4 separate regions of the Homo sapiens genome follow, and all the other regions are linked to region 4. Evidence: promoter capture Hi-C in 16 types of primary human blood cells and fetal thymus (Javierre and others, 2016). All regions are on one chromosome and are shown on one strand. Each heading gives the region's core, a stretch centred on a gene start or on the middle of the fragment in contact. The rest is flanking DNA. Distances are from core to core; before and after follow the strand shown.

Region 1 (2,895 bases), core at 57-2,556, 290 kb before region 4:
CCAAATTGGGGAGGAGGTACCACTGACCTCTACTTCTATGCCTTGGCTCCAGAGTTAACCAGATAAATCATGGGGTCTGGTAACACAATGTCTGTGGCCCCTCACAGGAGAGCCACTGAGTCCTAGCACCAACCCACGTGGCCCCGAGGGGAGCACCTGGGGGCCCCCTCCTCCCAGAGGCGCCTGAGTGAGGCTGACTCAGGTGAGACAAAGCAGGACATGCTTGGGATGCAGAGATGAGAGGGAACAGGGGGTACGGTGGCGTGTAAAGGGTATAGGAGAGGGTCCCGGATCTGCTCTTGGTGTGACACTCTCCCCAGAGCAGCACAAAGATCATCGATGGCCTAAGGAAAGGTGTGACCCCCATTCAGCATGAAAACCAATGGGGAGGTTGGTCTTAAAAATGCCATCAGGGTGATGGCCCCAGGGTCTGCACTGCTTGCCTGTCTACAGAGAAGCAGCAGGCTGAACCAAGCCTTGGGGAAGGTGGGGTTGAAGAAGGAGGAAAGGAGATTGGAAGGAAGGAAAGGGAGGAAGGAAGGGAGAGAGGAAGGAGCAGAGAGACAGCTAAGCTTCTGAGAGGCCACCCTGTGCCCTGGGGGGTGACCAACCTTCTTCCGAACACAGCCTAGAACTGCTTTGCCCAGACCTGAGCTGGGGGCAGCAGAGACTTGAGGAAAGGGCTGGGAGGACTTGGCAGACCCTGGCGAGTCCTGCTCTCACCACTCTGCTCCCAGCGGCGTCAGCCCTGTCACCTGTGTCCTCATCTGCCACAGTGGAGTCTTGGTGGGGGCTCACAGTTAGACCCTGAGTGGACATTTGTTACTAGCTGATTTCTCTATTGCCCAGGCTGGAGTGCGGTGTAATAGGCTGATTTCTGAAGACTAACCCCTCCCAGCCCTGGAGGTCCGGAGGGGTAGGGAGGGCCATGTGCAGACACCCCTCCAACACACAAGTGCACACACATGCACATGTACACACATGCCCACACAGACACACACACACATGCATACACGCACACATGTACCCACATGTACACATTCACATATGCATGCGCATGAACATGCCCACACATGTACACACTTGTACACACTTGCATACTCATGCATGCACAGTCCCCACACACGTGCATGCACACATGCCATATGTATACACACATGCACACAGGCACACAGACACGCCACCACTCATGCAGACATATGCACTCACACCTCTAAGTGTGCACATACATGCACATCCCTGCACAGGTGCAAGATGCACACACAAGCATGTATACACACATGTGCACACACACTCACACAATGCCTCCACCCAGGCATGCACATATGTACACACGAACCTCCATGTACACACGTATGCACATGCACACACATACTTCTATGCACATGACACATGCACATTTACATACAGGTGCACACACATAAGCATGCACACATGCCTCCACACATGCACGCACATATGCACACCATCCACACAGGACATGCACACACATACACATGCACATGCATGCACACACTCCTCCATGCATGCACACAAGGACACACACACACATACACCTCACCCCTCCAAGCTCCACAGTGCCACACACTGTCCAGCCCCTCACACTTCCTTGTACACAGCATGCAGGTACAGACAACAGACACCTGGCACAGAGTGGGGTGGGGACTCACCTTGAGGTCTCTGTGGACGACCCCCATTTGGTGACAATGGAGAACGGCCTCCAGGATCTGCTGGATACAGTGACTGTGGCAAACAGCAGGTGGGTTAGTGCGAGTGGCCCTGGGGAGCAGCAAGAGGAGGCACTGGGGGCAGGGGCAATGGTGCTGTGTGGCCTGGGGGGACCAGGGGGACAAAGCAAGTCAAGGTGAGAGGAGATGCTGGCCAGGAGGGGCCTCTGGGGCTTCTTCCTCACCTCCAAGGCCAGCAACTCTGGCCCTGGCCCTGCCTTCCCCTCTGGGCCCATATCTGTTCAGAGGGCATGGCTAGGCACACAGAAGTGACTTTCAAAGGAAACACCCCTGTCCCCAGGCTCCTGTTGGCCAAGCTTGACCCTAAGCTGGGCACCCTCAGGAGGGAGGCCAGGCTGAGTCTGTACCCTGTAAGGCAGGCTGAGGTGAGCAGGCCGGGCGAGCGGGCTAGAAAACCAAGGCAGGGAAGGGTCAAGGCGGCTGGGGGTGGGGGCAGGGGGCTGCCCTGGTGTGTGAGAAAGCCCCAGGCACCAGGACCCTGCTCTGTGCTGGAGCAGAAATAATGTGCTCGGGCACATGTTATTTCATTTTAATAAAAAGTGAAACCTGCCTGGGCGCGGTGGTTCATACCTGTAATCCCAGCACTTTGGGAGGCCAAGGTGGGCGGATCACCTGAGGTCAGGAGTTCAAGACCAGCCTGGCCAACATGGCGAAACCCCGTCTCTACTAAAAATACAAAAATTAGCTGGGTGTGGTGGTGGGCGGCTGTAATCCCAGCTACTCAGGAGGCTAAGGAAGGGAGAATTGCTTGAACCCAGGAGGTGGAGGTTGCAGTGAGCCAAGATGGCACCACTGCACTCCAGCCTGGGTGACAGAGGGAGAGTCCATCTCAAAAAGAAAAAAATAAAAAGTGAAACCCAAGCTGCCACATTGGCTGGTGGCTGCCGTGTTGGGTGGCTCAGTTCCAGCAGCACTAGGGGCATCTAGTTCAGCTCCCAGGGATCTGAGGGGCTGGGCAGGGGGCTGTGTGTGCACAGCACTGAGCACACGGAGCTTCCCCTTCAACCCTTCCTCTCATAGTCAGGGAGGGCTGTTGGCAGAAGTCCAGGGCCCTTCCAGGCCATGACTGGCTGGGAGGAGAGGTCCAAGCTGCTCTCAGGCCACCTCCCTGACACCTGTCCTAGAGCACATCAGACCCAGGGCCACG
Region 2 (3,035 bases), core at 79-2,578, 310 kb before region 4:
CCCCACAGGTGGGGGTGGCAGCAGCCCTGGGATGTCATCCATCCCTGTAAGTGATACTGCGGGTAGTCGGCAGACAGACCGGGAGGTGGCCCAGCCTGGCTCCTCCCTGGCCGGGGAGGCTGCCCAGCCTGTGCTTCCTGTCCCGCCCGCTCTGTTTCAGCCTGGCCCCAGCTGCCCCCCAGATCCGCGCCTCCCGATCCCCACCTGCTCCCTGCTGTCTGGACTTGGACAGCTCTAATGCTAGAGCGTCTCAGGCCGGGACTGACACTTTTCTGTCCCGGCCCAGCAGGTCCACCTTGACCCAAGCCAGCAGCTCCTGGCGTGCTAGCCCTTGCCACACGCGCAGACCCTTTGCCACCCATTCCCCTCCCATCAGGAGAAAGCTGTGGACCTCAGGGTTGCGAATGCTGGGGTCGGCAACAAACCTGCTCTTTCGGACGCTCTTCCTATACACATATGTCATACACACTTCATAACCATAACCTCCATTTTCTGAGACCCAGTGGCACCTTCATGTGCTTCAAAGCAATTCCCTGGGACCCAGCAGAGGGATCCTGTGCCCCGCCCTCCTCCGCAAGAATGGCCCTTCCCAGAGCACCACTGCCAGGCTCGCACGCCCCGAGCCCCTCCGGGCAGCCGCTGCCACGGCCACTCAAGGTGCTACTTACATGGGGTGGGCAGGGGGCCAGGGATAGTCGGAGATGGGCAGGGCGGGGGCCCCACTGGCGAGGGGCCCTCGGCTTCTGGGGTCCCTGAGCCCCTCCTCACAGAGTTCAGGATGTCAGAGATCCTGGGGGCTGGGGCGGAACAGACGAGACGTGAACACAAGGCAGGCACGGGGGGCACGCAGGAGAGAAACCATGGGCAGACAGCCAAGCCAGAGATTGAGGGGCACAGAGGCAGATGTGGGGGATGGGGCACAAGGGGACAGAGGGGAGGAAGGGAGAATGGGGGGGTGTGGGGGGAAGATGGTGGACCTGGGCCGACAGAGGGGATATAGGGGAAAGAAGGGGATGTGGGGGATGGAGGGGAGCTTGGGGGACAGAGAGGGAAACGGGAAATGGAGGAGACGTGGGAGACAGAAGGGAACGTGGGGGACAGAGGGGCATGTGGGGGGACAAAGTGGGGGTGTAGGGGATGGGGGGCATGAGGGGACCAAGGTGGGTGTGGGGGACAGAGGGGGGTGTGGAAGACAGAGGGGGTGTGGGGGACAGAAGGGGTCATGGGGGATGGGGGTGCGTGAGGGGACCAAGGTGGATGTGGGGGACAGAGGGAGTGTGGAGGACAGAGGGGGATGTGGGGGACAGAGAGAGGTGCAGGGGACAGAGGAGGGTGCAGGGGACAGAGGAGGGTGCAGGGGACAGAGGGGGATGTGGGGGACAGAGGGGAAGTGGAAGACAGAGGGGGTGTGGGGGACAGAAGGCGGTGTGGGGAACAGAGGGGGAGGTGGGGGACAGAGGAGAGTATGGGGGACAGAGGGGGTGTGGGGGACAGAAGGGGGTGTGGAAGACAGGAGGTGTGGGGGACAGACGGAGTGTGGGGGACAGAGGGAGAGTCTGGGGGACAGAGGGGGTGTGGGGGACAGGAGGGGGTGTGGAAGACAGAGGAAGTGTGGGGGACAGAAGGGGGTATGGGGGGCAGGGGGTGGAGGACAGAGGAGGGTGTGGGGGACAGAGGGGGATATGGGGGACAGAGGGAGTGTAGGGGACAGAGGAGGGTCTGGGGGGCAGAGGGAGAGTGTGGGGGACAGGGGGTGTGGGGGACAGAGGGAGTGTGGGGGACAGAGGAGGGTCTGGAGGACAGAGGGAGAGTGTAGGGAACAGAGGGGGTGTGGGGGACAGAAAAGGGCGTGAAGGGACCAAGGTGGGTGTGGGGGACAGAGGGGTATATGGGGGACAGAGGAGGGTGTGGGGGACAGAGGGAGAGTCTGGGGGACAGAGGAGGGTGTGGGGGACAGAGGGAGAATGTGAGGGGCAGAGCAGAGTTTGGGGAGGAAAATGGAAATGAGGGAAAGAGGGGAATTTGGGGGACAGAGGGGGATGTAGGGATAGAGCGTGGACTTAGGGGGACGTGGAGAGGTTGTAGGCTGACCGAGGGGGATATGGGGGGACGGAGGGAGACAGGGGGACAGAGGGTGCTGCTGCGGACAGCGTGGTGCGTGGAGAGGAGGCTGCAGGAGTGAAGGGCAGATGCTCTGGCTGTCGGGTGGCGTGGGCTGAAGCTGCTGGGGGCAGAGGGCACCCTCCAGGGAGAGGCTGCTGGCCAGCAAGAAGCTGTCAGGTAAGTGGCCCTTGAGGAACGCTGGACGGGGTTACAGGGAGAGGAGGGAGTCACGGGCGTTACAGAGGAGGCCTGGCCTGGCCCCATGAGGACAGCCCAGGTCAGCAGAGGCCAGGCTTATGATTCTCCGTACTATCCCCTTGTTGGTGAGCTCCAGAGACCCTGGTCGGGGTTCCAGTTTTGGCACCTTCCTCAGCCTCCTAGACTGAGGGAGGGTGCTCAGGGGTTGGGGCCACATCAGGAACCAGGGTGGCCCTGAGTGCAGCTCCTGGGCACCATGGGCAGGGCCCCTGGGTGGGTGTGAAGTCTGTGGGGCTGGGACAGTGATCAGCAGAGAGGGCCTAGGGGCATGGGGGGCCTCGGAGGGGCCAGGGCTGCCCAGGGCTGGGACAGACATTTTGGAGAGGGGCCTGGGGCTGGACAGCGAGCGGGGAGTGGCAGTGGGAGCAGGAGCCGTGGAGGGGTCTGGGCCCCTTAGGGAGAAGCCAGGAGCTGCCCTGCTGGTTAGCATGGGAGCCCACAGGAAGCCCCGCCAGGGCAGGACTCCAGGCTGCGGCGCCGGGGCAGGGTAGCTGGGCCGTGCATGCAGGTGGGAAGCTGCTGAGCGCCGGCCATTCGCAGGGAGCTGTCCGGCAGCAGAGGCGGCAGGCCTGGGGGCCACTACTTACACGGGGAGGACAGGGGGCCTAGGAGAGCCGGAGACAGGCAGGGCGGGGGCCCCGCTGAGAGGGGGCCCTCGGCTTCTGGGGTTCCTG
Region 3 (3,100 bases), core at 108-2,607, 330 kb before region 4:
CAGGCGCCTGAAGGTTGGGCCTTTCTGACCAGATGTCACAGTTTTGTCACTGCTTGTTTACATGTCTCCCTGACCAGCGTATGAGCACTGGGACATCTTTCCATCCTGCTCATGATACAGTGCCTAGTTTATACCATGCTCAGCAGTTGATAGATACCTGGAGTGGATTGAAACCCACATACAAAGCTTTACCATTTACACAGGCATAGCTTTAGTGTGTACATCAGCGTCTCCTGGGGTTGGAGTTGTTGGCCTGCGATGGAGCCTGGGAACCTGCATTTTATAAAAAGCATCCCAGGGGCTTCAAACACAGGTGTGCTGACTGCACTCCAAATAACGTGGCTTTGGAATGAACGATAGATGTGAAAGTCTCATGGTATCTGTGTCTTTTGAAACCTTGTGAGCTTTCTTACCACCTAGGTGGCATTTCTCCGTTTTCTCCTCAAGCCATCTCTTTCTGTTGCTCAAGTCCTAGTCTGAGTACCATGACACCTGGGACACCCGCTGTTTCTCCTCTCCCCACGGTGGGGAGTGGATGAGTCCTATTCACCCAGCCTCATCTAGCTGCAGTTGTAAAATCTAGATGATTGGTGTGCATATCTGAATCAGTTAACTTTCTGTGTTAAAAATTTGAGTCGCTCAGCTGTGTGTAGGGATGAAGGACATTCTTGCTGGCTCCTTGTTCTATGGCGCTTCATGTGTGCATCTAGCTGCTGCAGCAGTGGCCATCTGAGGAGAGAAGCGAGCTGCTGCTTCCTGAGGGCCCTGGCAGCAGAGCTGCTGGCTCTTGTGAGGTCTCCATCTCTAGACCCCTTCCCATGGGGTCAGTGTTTTCATTTCCTAAGTCAGAGTTTGTAGTGATGACATTTAGGACATAGCCCATTTAGAAGGCAGGACATGTTCTGTCATAGTGCTGTCTGGTATATATTTGGGGCATGTGTGTAACTTAGAATTTTCTAGGAGCCATATTTTAAAATGATAAAAGGAAAATAGGTAGAATTTAATTTAATTATATATTTTACTTAACGCAGTATATCCAAATACAATTTTTCCAACATGTAATCGGTATAAAACTTGTTTTTTTTTCAGTATAAAACTTACTAATGAAGCATGTGTGAGTTTGCATCTGAAATCTGGTGTGTCTGTACTCAGAGCGCTGCTCAGTTTGGACTTGCCTCACATCAAGTGCTCAATAGCCATTTCCCACCGCCTTTTGTTTCCTGTGGCTGCTGTCAACAGAAACCCTCAAATATTTGCTTTTAACAGATAGCTCTGTGGGCCTGGCTGGTGTCTTTTGGGGCTCTGAGTGTCTGTCCCAGGCCTCTCTCCAGCCTCTGGTGGCTGCTGGCCATCCTTGGCATTCCTTGGATTAGAGGTGCATCACTTCAGGCTCTGCCTCTGCCGTCACGTGACCTTCTGTGTGTGTGTTTCCGTTTCTTACCAGGACATCAGTCATGGAATTAGATGCCACCCTAATCCAGTATTACCTCTTCCTAACTAGTTACATCTGCCAAGACCCTATTTCTAAATATGGTCACATTCAGAGATTCTGGGGATGTTAATTTCTGGGATGCGGTTGGGGTTGGGGGGTGCGGTGTGGGTCACTCTCCAACCCAGTACAATCATATAGTGCCCAGCTACTCTTTTTTCCAAAGCTCCATGCACACGCACATGTGCGTGCACACACACACACACACACAAATGTATATATAAATGTGTGTGTATATATATATATGAGTTTTCCTGGAGTGCTGGTTATCTAAGCCTGTGCTGGGGACAGCTTTTTGGGAAGTCTGCTACATCCCAGTTAGATCTTCTAGATTTCACGGGAATGTCACCAGGTTCTGTTCCATCCACTTGGACAGTAACTATTCTTGGACCGAGTCTCGACACCTAGAGGTGAAGTTTGTGTGTGTTGGAGAGGAACCCAGGTAAGGCACTTTCCCCCATGACTGAAATATGAGGGGCTCATGTCAGGGCACGTACTGAACAGAGCTGGATTCTCTTTTCTTTTTTGTCCAGCACAACACCATGGAGTCTCTGTTAGAGCGAGGTGAGAAGCTAGATGACTTGGTGTCCAAATCCGAGGTGCTGGGAACACAGTCTAAAGCCTTCTATAAAACTGTGAGTACCCAGCACCTGCTGCCTCCTGGGTGTTCTCTCTAGAGAGCAGTCGCAGCTTGCTGCTTCTGGCACTCTCCACTATGAACGGGTCTTTCTTAGACTGTTGAATCATGGTGGATGATTCCTTGTGCGGCAAGAGCCTAAGGTGAGCGCCTCAGGCCCAGGTGGTTGGAGGCAGTTCACTTGGGCGCCGTTGGAGTCGATGCGGGCCGAGGCCTTGTTCCACTCCTGCCTCTGCTCTGCCCTCTGCTGCTCTGGCTGATTTCTGAACTCCTACTCCCAGTCCAGGAAGGCTGGTTCAAGTTCTGATCACCAGAGATTTACTGTTGAATCTTATTCCTCTTTCTGCTGAGTAGACATAAGTCTTTAAGATGCAAGCAATTCAGCCTTCCTGAAGAGGTTCTTAAGCTTTTAATTTCCCTTTGACAGAAAATATTTAATTGACAAGGATGGGTGCTGCTGACTGCCGCTTTCTCTCAGGTCAGTGCTCATGTCTTCCTATGTGGAGATGGCACTGTTGGCCCATGGTTGGATAGTCATAGGGACAAATTTACTTGGTCTGTCCACACACATTTGCTTTCATGTGCACATTGGAGGGAGATGGCTAGGTGGGATTAGGAAGATAGTCTGTGACCAGAAAGCAAGAGAGAAGGTGGCAACAGTGGTCCCCACAAACCACATCCCAAGTGGGAACCACATCTGTTGTCCTCAGGACCATCTTCTAGGAAGAAACACCACCGTGGTGGTCAGATAGCATTGTGTGAAGACAGGAGTGGGGCAAAGTTAAGATATTCTGCCAATCCCATTTGTATTATTGGTCCTTTGTTTGTACCTGGCCTAACTGTAGGAATTTTACTCACTTTTTGATAGCATTAATGGGGTGTGAGAAAAGAAAGGAAAAAGGATCCCAGACTAGTTTTGGAAGCCGGGGCCCGCCTTGTGCTTGGTGATGGGAATTGCTTGTGGACAGCTTCCC
Region 4 (3,136 bases), core at 222-2,721:
CTGCAGGGACGCGCACACGGCTGCAGGAGTCATAGCTCTGCTCGGCAAAGCTATGCTGGTAGAAGGCCTCATAGGCCACCACAGCTGGGAGTTGTCCAGCCCCTAGCTGGGCCACGCGGGTCACATTGATGAAGAGGCTCTGATTGGGGCTGCACGTGTTGTGGCAGTGCAGGTTCACAAAATTGTCAGAGCAGGCTGGGCAGCGGGTGAGGAGGGCCTTGGTGATCGACAGACTCGCTTCCAGTGATACCAGCTGCTTGGCGGAGCAGCAGGCTTGGGTGTTGGGGCCGGTGTAGAGGCGGGGGCAGATCTTCTGTAATAGGATCAGGTGATCACCTGTGATCTTGCGGGCCGGCGTGTTGGACAGGCAGGACACGTTGGAGAGTGTCATGAGGCTTCCAGACAGCTCTGGGTTCTTCCCACATTCGTCATAGAAGGCGCAGTAGCCAGGCTGGTGGATGGTTGTGTAAGGCTCACTCTGGGCCTGCAGAGCACAGCAACATCACGCGTGGGCCCTGACACAGCTGGGTGCCATCCAGGCAGCAGGCAGCCAGGGAGGGTGTGAGGGTAAGAAGGACATGGAGCAGGGGCAGGGAAGCGGGGAGTGTGGGGAGTAGGAAGCCTCCTGGAGGCATGTGCCAGCCAGCCAGTGTTGGAGTGACAACACTGGCCTTTCTTCCTGGGGGTGGCCTGATAGACCTGCAGCTTAGGAAAGTCATGCTGGAGAGGCCAGAGATGGGTAAGGAGGCAAAGCTGACTCCAAGGTCCCGGGCTCTGCCCACGTCAAAGTCAGCCTGAGTCCCCACACTGTACACCACATCCAGAGGCCAGGGTCTCTCATGGAGAGTCTGTTCAGGAGGCCCCCCGACTCCCACCACCACTACCACCACCTGCTTGAGGCCAAAAGCTGTCACCCACCTCCCAGACACAAAGTAAGCGAGGAACTTAAGAGGTGCCAGCGCTGGATCTTCTCCCAGCCTCCAGAGTGCTCAGTCCTCCCTAGGTGATGCTCACCAGGTAACCCCATCCCAGCACCTCCTTGCCTCAGACCTCCCTCAACTGCAGGCCTGGACCCCACAGTAGGGCCAGTGACAGGAGGGACTTGGAGCACCCCAGTCCAGCAGCCTCTTTCACCCCTGTGTGCATTCAAGCCTGTAACCTGGAAACCCTCCACCTGCACCCCTCCTCTGTGGGGCCTGGCATCCCTCATGTGTCCAGAGACTTGCCCAGCCCGCAGGCCCTGAGGCTCCCTTGCTGTCACCCAGTAACGCTCGCCTGGTACACGGCTGGCCCCAGGGTCCCTAACTGGAGGCCGCAGGGGAGGTGGAGCCAAGCCCTGGGACTCACCAAGCGCAGGAGCAGGGCCCACAGCAGCCAGCCCCTCAGGCCGGCCTCCGCCATCCCAGGTCTGGGAAGGGGTCAGCGGGGAGCCAGGCCAGGCCTCAGGAACAGCCAAGGGCTGAACACACATTAAGGCAGCCTCCTCCCCTTCGATGACAACCCTGGCCTGACTGGGTTAGGGACCAATGAGGCTGAGCCCTGCTGGTTAATGATCCACCACTCCCACTGTTTGGCCCCAGTCCACAGGCCCCCGCTTTAGATGAGCCTCATCACGCAGGTGCTAGGGTCTCCACTCACTTCCCAAAGCGACCGAAGCCAGAGGGCTGAGTCAGCTAGGGGAGAGACCACGCTATTAGCCCCTAACACTGCTGGAGTTGGTGCCAGGGCCTGGAGGCACAGATGGGACCAGGCACTGGCTGGGACCCGGCCTCAGGAGCTCAGCATGGCCGAGGAACCTCCGCACCCTCCCTGGCTCAGCCTCAGACCCCAGCTCTGCCCTACCCCCTCTTGGGACCAGGGCCAGCAATGGGCTCAGAGGAACCCTCTGCACTGTCATCCCTAGCAACTGTTGTTAATTAATATTAACAGCCTGATAACGGAGGGGCAGGCAGGGTGGAGTGACGCAGTGACAAAAGTCCCCTCCTCCAGGAAGCAAAGGGAAAGAACAGCTCACTCTAGGGCCTGACAGTTGACAGAGACCCCAGATAGTGGAAGACTCTCCTTTGCTCACTTTGCTCTTCATCCCCTCTTCCCCCCGACCTTCTCCCTCTTGTCCCTTGCCCAGGCCTGTCCCACCGGTCACCCCTAGCAAGGGACAGAGCATGGCTGGGAGCCTTGAGCAGCAGCCCTGCTCCACCTGGGCCCAGGGGTGTGGTACACACTTTCTGCTCCCTCCTGATAGGAATCTTCAAGGCCTACCTTGGGTTCTCACTATCACCAGGATGGGCCATGACCTTTACCCCCATTTGGTAATGGGCCCCCATTACCAAAGCTGAGCTGCAGATAAGGGCAGCTTGTTGGGAACATCTCCTGCGTGGCCACCTACTGGAGACAGCTGCAGGAAGGGACCTGTCTCTAGTGTTCTGTGGACCCCTGCCTGATTCACAGGGGAGCCACCCAGCCTCATGCAGGAGAAGACAGAGGCTGAGAGGAAGGGGGCCAAGGCAGGGTCAGGCTGACCCCTAAGTTCTCAAGACAGCCATAGTGGAGAGGAAGACAGTCAGCAGCCAAGGACCTGCCCCTGTGAGTGACAGCTCCATCCAGCACCTTCCCAGCACTGCTCCCAAGTCCCTGGCCGGCAGAGGCGGACACCCCACCACCCATGAAGCTGCCTCTCTAGGTCCTCTGTTCCCGGTGTTGTCATCTAGTTCCTCCAGAAACAGATCCTGAAACAAGGATCCCAGTGCAAAGAGTTTATTGGGGAGATGACCCCAGATGACAGCAGTCGGTGAATGGGGAATGAGCCAGGGGATGGAAGAAAGCTGACCAGAATGCATCCAAGAGCTTGCTCCTGCCCCCAGGGACCTCCGGGAACTGGTGGGGACGTGCCCAAGAAGGTCCCCTCCAAGGAATAAGGACACAGACAGCTTTCCACCACATTCATCTGTCACTGGTAGAGGACATTCCTGGAAGATTTCGCCCCAGCACGTGGCGGGCACCTTCAGTGTCAAAGGGCCTTAGGCAGGGCCGTGGGCACTTGCGACAAGAAGACACTGTCGGCATGCACAGAGCTGTGTCAGAACAAAGATATGAAAGGCCCACCCTGCCTTTCATATGTTTCTTCCCATGGGGGCTG

What was found. The method cuts DNA at HindIII sites, captures the fragments that hold promoters and counts their contacts. A CHiCAGO score of 5 or more calls a contact.
Region 1: a contact is called between a fragment that was not itself captured here and the fragment with the promoter of NPC1L1 in region 4, in 5 of 17 cell types (M0 macrophages, endothelial precursors, M1 macrophages and 2 more). The highest score is 10.8, in M0 macrophages.
Region 2: a fragment that was not itself captured here is called in contact with the fragment with the promoter of NPC1L1 in region 4 in 4 of 17 cell types (M1 macrophages, M0 macrophages, naive CD8 T cells and 1 more); the score reaches 8.1 in M1 macrophages.
Region 3: a contact is called between a fragment that was not itself captured here and the fragment with the promoter of NPC1L1 in region 4, in 8 of 17 cell types (M0 macrophages, endothelial precursors, M2 macrophages and 5 more). The highest score is 10.4, in M0 macrophages.

Annotation. Positions count from the first base shown.
Region 1 is chr7:44,245,450-44,248,344 of GRCh38, forward strand. It overlaps CAMK2B (calcium/calmodulin dependent protein kinase II beta), which reads right to left. Exons shown (of 24, transcript NM_001220.5): 6 at 1,671-1,743. Among named protein-coding and RNA genes, the nearest start is that of YKT6, 46 kb to the left of the region's middle. The HindIII fragment of the contact is 1,472 bases long and covers 571-2,042 here.
Region 2 is chr7:44,225,848-44,228,882 of GRCh38, forward strand. It overlaps CAMK2B (calcium/calmodulin dependent protein kinase II beta), which reads right to left. Exons shown (of 24, transcript NM_001220.5): 19 at 2,949-3,035; 20 at 669-797. Among named protein-coding and RNA genes, the nearest start is that of YKT6, 26 kb to the left of the region's middle. The HindIII fragment of the contact is 6,943 bases long and covers 1-3,035 here.
Region 3 is chr7:44,209,001-44,212,100 of GRCh38, forward strand. It overlaps YKT6 (YKT6 vesicular SNARE protein), which reads left to right. Exons shown (of 7, transcript NM_006555.4): 6 at 2,023-2,124. Among named protein-coding and RNA genes, the nearest start is that of YKT6, 9.6 kb to the left of the region's middle. The HindIII fragment of the contact is 2,346 bases long and covers 185-2,530 here.
Region 4 is chr7:44,539,859-44,542,994 of GRCh38, forward strand. It overlaps NPC1L1 (NPC1 like intracellular cholesterol transporter 1), which reads right to left and starts at 1,472. Exons shown (of 19, transcript NM_001101648.2): 1 at 1,348-1,472; 2 at 1-484. The coding sequence starts at 1,401. RefSeq lists an enhancer at 144-765. The HindIII fragment of the contact is 6,836 bases long and covers 1-3,136 here.